Linked DNA regions of Homo sapiens: region 1 is linked to region 2. The links are contacts of gene promoters, found by promoter capture Hi-C in human tissues and cell types (Jung and others, 2019). All regions are on one chromosome and are shown on one strand. Each heading gives the region's core, a stretch centred on a gene start or on the middle of the fragment in contact. The rest is flanking DNA. Distances are from core to core; before and after follow the strand shown. Region 1 overlaps RNF187 (ring finger protein 187). Region 2 holds the start of PSEN2 (presenilin 2).

Region 1 (3,904 bases), core at 249-2,748, 1.6 Mb after region 2:
GGATTGGTTCCAGGACCCCCTCATGGATACCAAAATCTGCAGATACTCAAGTACCCTGCAGTCAGCCCTCCCTCTGCACATATGTGGGACAGTCAGATACAGAGGGCCAACTGCGTACAGTACACGGTTATCAGCTGAAGTCACCATGCTGTGCAATAGACCTTGAGTTTATTCTTGTATAGCAGGGACTCTGTACCCTCTGACTAGAATTTCCCCAAATCCTCTTGTCTCAGCCCCTGCTAACCACCGTTCTACTCTCTAATTCTATAAATCAACATTTTGATTCCACATATAAGTGAGATCATGTGATATTTGTCCTGTTCCTGGCTTATTTCACTTAATATAAATGTCCTGTAAATTCACCCATGTTGCAAATGGCAGGGTTTCCTTTTTTATGGCCAAATAGTATTCCATGATGTGTATACACCACATTTTCTTAAGCCATTTATCCACTTTATCCCTTTATCACTTTGCTTCTAGACCACGTAGGTTGATTCCGTATCTTGACTGTTGTAAAAGTGCTCTTAAGAAACACAGGAGTGTGGGTATCTCTTCCATATATTCATGTCGTTTCCTTTGGGAAAATACTTAGCAGTAGGATTGCTGGGTCACGGTACTCTTTTTAAGTTTTTGAATAACCTCCATATGCTTCTCCATAATGGCTATAATAATTTACATACTCACCAACATTTATTTTCTTTGAAATTAGTCATTCTAAGAAGTGTGAGATAATCTCATTGTGATTTGGTTTACGTTTCCCTGATGATTAATGATGTTGAGCATTTTTTTATATACCTGTTGGCCATTGGTATGTCTTCTTTTGAGAAGTGTCTCTTCAGGTTCTTTGCTCATTTTTTAGTCGTTTATTTGCTTTCCTGCTATTGAGTTTGAGTTCCATGTATATTTTGGATATTAACCCCCTACTTAATGTATGGTTTGCAAATACTCTATCCCAATTTGTGAGTTGTCTTCACTCTGTTTATGATTTCCTTTGCTGTGCAGAAGCTTTTTAGCTCTATGCAATCATGTATGTTTATTTTTCTTTTGTTGCTTGTGCTTTTAGGGTCATATGCAAGAAGTGATACAACCCTGAAACCTAGGCCAGTGTCATGGAGTTTTTCACCTGTGTTTTCTTCTACTGGCTTTACAGTTTCAGGCCTTACAATTAAGCCCTTGTCTGTTTTGAATGGATTTTTGTGTAGGGACATTCCCTCCACAAGGGCTTTCTCTGGCCTTGCTGATGCTCCTCCGTCTCCCTTGTGTCCTCTCCACTCCACCCTCTTCATGTGGAAGAACCCTTGGCATCCTCGTGTGGCCTCTCTGTCCTATCCAGCCCCCCATGGTGACCTCACACTTGCCTCTCTGACGTGGGTCTCTCTCCCAAACCCTCTTCCAGGTCCAACCACTGCCTCCATCCCAGACTTGCCCAGGGGCCCAATCCCTGCAGTCCTCAGACATCTCAGAGCTGTCTCTGAGTTGTTTTCTCTAACAGTCCACAATAGGTCTGCAAAGGAATCCTGCAGGCTCTTCCTGTAGCCAAAGACCTTGACCTCATCTTACCTGCTCCCCGCCAGTCCCCCACCGTGGCCCACTGGCACTGTCCTCTTCTGCCCAGGAGACCTGGGGACCTCATCTCCTCCCGCTGCTCCAACAATGCATTCTCAACCCAGCAGGTAGATGGGTTTCTACTTTAAAATATGTAGGATGAACCAGTCTGGTGATCCGATGTACAACAGGAGGAATGTAGGTAATAAAATTGCACTGTTTTGGGAGTTCCTGCTAAATGACTAGACTTCAGCTGCTCTTGCCACAAAATCCTAAAAGTGGTTGACTCTGGGAGGTGATGGGAATGTTAATTGCTCCCCTGTAGTGACCATTTTGCTATCTGTTTGTACTTTGTAACATCACGTTGCATACCTTAAATATACACAATGAAATTTATTAAAACAATGAAAATAAAAACTAAGCAAGAGCCTGCCCCTGCTGTACTCAAGGCCCTGCAGCAACTCAGATTCATTCCGGGAAAGCTTCGCAGTGGCCTGGGAAGTGCTACATAATCCACCCCGAGCTCTTCCTCTCTCGTCACCACTGTGCCCCCTGCTCCCTGCAGACCCAGCATGATGGCCTCTCTGTTCTTCAGCAAGCCAGGTGGGCCCTGCCTCGGCCTCTGATCTCCAGGGAACATTTCTCCCCCATACCTGTGTGGCGGTTGCCCCTCTCCTTCAGGTCTGCTCCCACAGGGTGTTTTATAGAAATGGCTTGAAACAGACGCCCTTCCTCAGCCCTTGACCACGCAAGCTCTGAGGAGCCACTGGTGTCCCTGTGGCTTTGCTGCAACCAGATCTCTCTGGTCAAGGGCAGCCCTAGGCAGGAGGATCTCCGAGGCTGGCTGTGGGTGACATGTGGAAGGAAACTGAGGCCAGGCACTGCATAGAAAAGCAACAGTTTGTTTGCTGGAAGGTAGGGGACACATTCTCAAGACACTGATGTATTTGTCCAGTAGCTCAATACTTTTTTCTCAACTCTTATTTTCAGAGCTTTGTGGGAAAGCCGTGGATAGTTGGGACCCAAAGGTCGTTTTCAGTTTCAGGATCCTGTGGCCAAAGAGAGGAGATAAAAATGCTTGGGGCCATTTTACCTTCTACATTACCTAACTGAGTAGCTATTATTTCATGAGGTTGACAGCAGCAAAATATAAGGAGATGCTTAAACTATTTAGTAACTGGAGAATCATAATTAAAACCATAATGAGATACTGCTTTAGCTCGGGGTGGGTTGGGGCGGGGGTGGTTCGGGCGGGTGGTGGGAACTGCAGCACTAGGTGATGTTGAAGTCTGAGTGATGATGGCACATTAGGTGAGCCCAGAGGTGCTGTGAGGAGTGTAGAATAAGGCCGCTGCTTTGGAGTGCAGTCTGGGGTCAAACTAAAAGGCATACCTTGGAGAAACCATGGGTTTGCTTCTAGACCATTGCAATACAGCAAATACTGCAATAAAGCAAGTCCCATGAAATGTTTGGTTTCCAAGTGCATATAAAATGCTTTTATAGGCTGTAATGTAGTCTACTAAGTATGCAGTAGCATTATGTCTAAAAAAGCCAATGTATGTACCTTAATTTTAAAATACTTTGTTGCTAAAAAATGCTAATGATCATCTGAGTGTTCAGTGAATTGCCATCTTTTTGCTGGGGGAGGGTCTTGCCTCAATGTTGGTGGCTGCTGACTAATTAGGGTGGTGGCTGCTGGAGTTTGGGGTTGCTGTGGCAATTTCTTAAAATAAGACAATGAAGTTTGTCACATCAATTGACTTCCATTCAAAAGACTTCTCTGTAGCATGTGTTGCTGTTTGATAGCAGTTTACCCACATAACATCTTTAAAAATTAGAGTCACTCTTCTCAAACCCTGCCACTGCTTTATCAACTAAGTTGATGTCAATTCTAAATCCTTTGTTGTCATTTCAACCGTGTGCACAGCATCTTCACCAGAAGTAGATTCCATCTCAAGAAAACACTTCCTTTGTTCATCCATAAGAAGCAACTTGTCATCCATTCATGTTTTCTCATGAGACTGCAGCAATTCAGTCCCATCTCCAGGCTCCACTTCCAATTCTCGTTCTCTTGCTGTTTCCACCACATCTGCAGTGACTTCCTCCCCTGAAGTCCGGGATCGCTCAGAGTCATCCATGAGGGCTGGAATCAACATCTTCCAAACTCCTGTTCATGTTGCTGTTTTGACCTCCTCCCATGAATCATGAATGTTCTTAAGGCATCTAGAATGGTGAATCCTTTCCAGCAGGTTTTTAAAAATTTTCTCCCAGATCCATCAGAGGAATCATTGTCTAAGGCAGCTGTAGCCTTATGAAATGTCTTAAATAATAAGACTTGAAAGTTAATTATGGAAGTTAA
Region 2 (4,082 bases), core at 476-2,975:
CCCAATTTTAAAATGGGCAAAGGACTTGAATAGGCATGTCTCCAAAGAAGATATACAGATGGCCAACAAACACATGAAAAGGAGAATGCTTAATAGCATTAGTTATTAGGAAAATGTAAACCAAAACCAGAATGAGGTACCGCTGCACACCTACTAGGATAACAATAAAATGGAAAATAACAAGTGTTGGTGAGGATGTGGAGAAATTGGGATCCTGTACATTGCTGGTAGGAATATAAAATGGTTCAGCCATCGTGGAAACCACTTGGGGTTCCCCAAATAGTTAAACACTGAAGGCTGGGCACGGTGGCTCATGCCTATAATCCAGCACTGTGGGAGGCCAAGGCAGGCAGATAACTTGAGTTCAGGATCAAGACCAGCCTGGCCAACATGGGGAAACCCCATCTCTACTAAAAATACAAAAATTAGCCAGATGTGGTGGCACACACCTGTAACTCCAGCTACTCAGGAGGCCGAGGCAAGATAATTGCTCGAACCTGGGAGGCAGAGGTTGCAGTGAGCCAAGATTGCGGCCACTGCACTCTAGGCTGGGCAACAGAGCAAGGCTCTGTCTCAAAAAAAAAAAAAAATTGAATTACCATGCGATCCAACAATTCAACCCCTATGTATGTACCCTCCCCAAATAAAAATGGGCTCTCAAACAAATACATGTACATGCATGTTCATGGTAGCATTATTCACAAAGCCAAAAGATGCAAACAGCCCCAATGTCCATAGATGAATAAACTGTGGCATACATGATACACACACACACACGCACACACATATACATATACACACACAAACACTATTCAGTCATAAAAAGGAATAAAGTCTGTTACATGCTACCTGAGGATGAACCTCGAAAACATGCTAAGTGAAAGACACAAAAGTCCACACACTGTGATTCCGTTTATATGAAGTATCTAAAGTAAGTAAATATAGAGACAGAAGTAGACTGGTAATTGCCAGGGGCTGGGGGGGAAGAGGGCATTGGGAAGAAACTTCTCAATGGGTATGGGGTTTTTCTTTCGGAATGAGGAAAATGTTTTGGAACTAGACAGAGGTGGTGGTTGCACAGCATTGTGAATTCACTAAATGCCACTGAAATGCCCACTTTAAAATGGTAAATTTTATGTTATGTGAATTTCACCTTAAGTTAAAAAAAAAAAAGTAAAACTACTCAGACAACGCCAAATTATTGACAATCTCAACCTACCCCACAGACCCCAAATCCTGGAACCACAACCCCCTAGGCCAATTCTCAGGTCAGGCAGCAATTTATTCCTGTTCAATTTTATGCAGAGCTCCTGGTGGCTCTGAAGCGCCCTAGGGAACAGACCAGGAACATTCTCATGGTGTTAGCTCACATTGGGCCATTAGTGCTCCTTTAATGTGAGAACAACCGGGAGGAGGAGGGGATGTGGACCCAAAACTACAAGAAAGAGTGTCCTCGAAGCCTATGTCCTACCGCCCCACGCTGCTGCCAGGCCCGCAGGAAGATGACAGGCCCGGCCTCCACTCCTTCTAAGGTCGTCGCTTAGTTCCGACGTCGGGATGACCCTGTCATCCACGCGGCGTGAAGGCCACCCTCCCCGCGCGCCCGGGACTCCAGGTGGGGCCCCAGTGGACGAGGGAACGCGGCGTCGCCCACCGGGCGTGGCCTGGGCGGGCGTGGGGCGGGGCCTGGGCCGGCGCCGGGTCCGGCCGGGCGCTCAGCCAGCTGCGTAAACTCCGCTGGAGCGCGGCGGCAGAGCAGGTGAGCGGGCGGTGCCGGGGGGTGCCCAGGCCAGGGCCCTGTCGCCTGCGGCGCTGAGGGCCCGGGGTGGGGCTGCGCCCTGAGGGCCCTGCCCTGCCCTCCGCACGCCTCTGGCCACGGTCCCTTCCCCGGCTGTGGGTCTGCGGCCCCTGCGTGCGCAGCGCTCCTGGCCTCTGCGGCCAGCGCGGGGGCGGAGAGAGGAGAGTGCCCGGCAGGCGGCGGCTGGGCCGGCCCGGAACTGGGTCGTGGAAGGATCGCGGGGAGCGGCCCTCAGGCCTTCGGCCTCACTGCGTCCCCACTTCCCTGCGCCCGCCTGCCGCCGAGCCCCGGCTGGGGGTGGGCGCGGCGCGAGCGGTTAAAGGGCCGGTGCATTTAAAGGAGCGGTGCACGTGGGTCTCTGAGGCGTGTAGCAGGCGGGGGCGTTTTGTTCTTCTTCTCTCTCGCCGGAGACCTCCGTTGCGCCGAGTCCATTCGGCCTCTAGCACCGGGTCCTGGGCATGCTTTCCCCGGGAAGGAGGCGCGCGGGGGCTCTGCCCGCACGTGAGGGGCAGGGCCGCAGGCTCAAGCCTAGAGCCGGTTTCTGTTAGCAGCGGTGTTTGGCTGTTTTATCAGGCATTTCCAGCAGTGAGGAGACAGCCAGAAGCAAGCTTTTGGAGCTGAAGGAACCTGAGACAGAAGCTAGTCCCCCCTCTGAATTTTACTGATGAAGAAACTGAGGCCACAGAGCTAAAGTGACTTTTCCCAAGGTCGCCCAGGTACGATATAGCAGAGCCAGGCTTCGACCCCAGTGTCCTGGCTTCTAGATCTGCTGTCCATCCCTCCGAGCAGACCTCACCCCTGTTTATTGCCTTAATAAGTATTCCCTTTGAAAGGTATGAACGGTGTTGAGTGAAGTAACTGCATCCCTATTTACAAATGGAGAACCTGAGAGCATTCCATAGAGACGATTGTAGACTAACTTAACTCAGAAGCGACAGCCTGGGGTTGCCAAGGCTGTCTACGAAGTAACTTGATTAGGACCGACCCCAGCTTCCAGTAAGGAAGCCTCTGATGCCTCTGTAGCCAATTCTGCAGACACCTGAGCCTCCAAGGCCTTCAGCCAAGACCTTTGGCGGTAATTGGAGTCTCGGGATAAGCTGCTTCAGGTGTGTGAGCCTCAGGTTCTTCTCTCCTGAATGTGGTTGTGGGCAGCCGGTGACTGGCGCAGGTGCAGAAGGGGCCTGGTTCTTGGCCCCACCTCAGAGCTGCGTCCTCACGACGCCCACGTTGAGCCTTGGGTTCCAGGGCAGAGACTGGAGTGAGGGCTTGGGGGCATGTTGCTTTGAAGTGGGATGGATGTATCAGGTTTTTGGGGAAAACTCTGTACCCTTTGGTGTTGAAGTGCCCATGTGCCAAGTCTTGAGTCCAGCATGTTCACATGTGGGGAGTGAGTGGCTTGTTCCTGTCTATTTGAAAGAGCAGCAAGGAGGAGGAGGAGCAAGGGCTAGGGGCTGCTGCTGGGGTGCCTGGAGCTGTGGTGCATAATGTCACACCTGTCTCCCCTCCGTAGCTGCTCACCGTCCCCCCAAGGGGGGTTTGCCTCTTGCCTACTTTGGCCTTTCTCTGTTATCGATGTTAATAATGACATATATCTCGCTTATGAGTTGGTCATAATAAAAAGCTATCTTGTACAGAATATTAGAATTTAAGATCTTAAGAATTTCAATGACACTGAAATAGTTTATTATTACCTTTTTACAGAAGAGGAAACAAGTTCAGGGAGTTAAGCAGCTAGTCCAGTTATGTGGCTTCAGTGCTTTAAGCACCAGGATTTGAACATAGCTGGCTACACTGTCTTTATCTCTTGAGTTTTTGCGCAGGAGGTTCCTGTATTCAACTCCTACCCGTGTCTCTCCACTACTGCTGGGAAAGTTTTGTGGAGTCCCCATGAGCAACTTCCTGACAAACAAACAAAATTTTTTTAAAGAAACCAAAGCAGTGTGTGTAGGTCACATGCAGTGTGTCTAATGAAAACATCTCTGGCGGGTTTTCAGCTGTTGCTTTGACTTTCGGACACTGTTTAGTTGGGGACTGATAAGACAGCAAATATTTCTGCAAGTATTCCCACCTGTTCTATTCCCAGCTGCCACAGCTGCGGAAAGGCGGGGGTGAGGCTGAGAGGCCCCGAGAGGAACATTTTCCACTGGGCTCCAATCCTGGAGATGGGATGACCATCATGTTAATGTCTGGAGAAAAGAATGATTTCAGGCTGGGTGCTGTGGCTCATGTCTGTAATCCCAGCACTTTGGGAGGCCGAGGTGGGTGGATCACCTGAGGTCGGAAG

The links. The method cuts DNA at HindIII sites, captures the fragments that hold promoters and counts their contacts. A contact is called where the count stands out against the background at its distance.
Region 1: a fragment that was not itself captured here is called in contact with the fragment with the promoter of PSEN2 in region 2 in 1 of the 25 tissues and cell types used here (bladder).

What each region holds. Positions count from the first base shown.
Region 1 is chr1:228,495,899-228,499,802 of GRCh38, forward strand. It overlaps RNF187 (ring finger protein 187), which reads left to right. Exons shown (of 4, transcript NM_001010858.3): 4 at 1-290. Among named protein-coding and RNA genes, the nearest start is that of RNF187, 10 kb to the left of the region's middle. The HindIII fragment of the contact is 3,191 bases long and covers 1-3,094 here.
Region 2 is chr1:226,868,891-226,872,972 of GRCh38, forward strand. PSEN2 (presenilin 2) reads left to right here and starts at 1,726. Exons shown (of 13, transcript NM_000447.3): 1 at 1,726-1,759; 2 at 2,372-2,514. LOC105373119 (a long non-coding RNA gene) reads right to left here and starts at 1,660. Exons shown (of 3, transcript XR_949226.4): 1 at 1,472-1,660. RefSeq lists silencers at 1,529-2,128, 2,139-2,188. The HindIII fragment of the contact is 9,487 bases long and covers 1-4,082 here.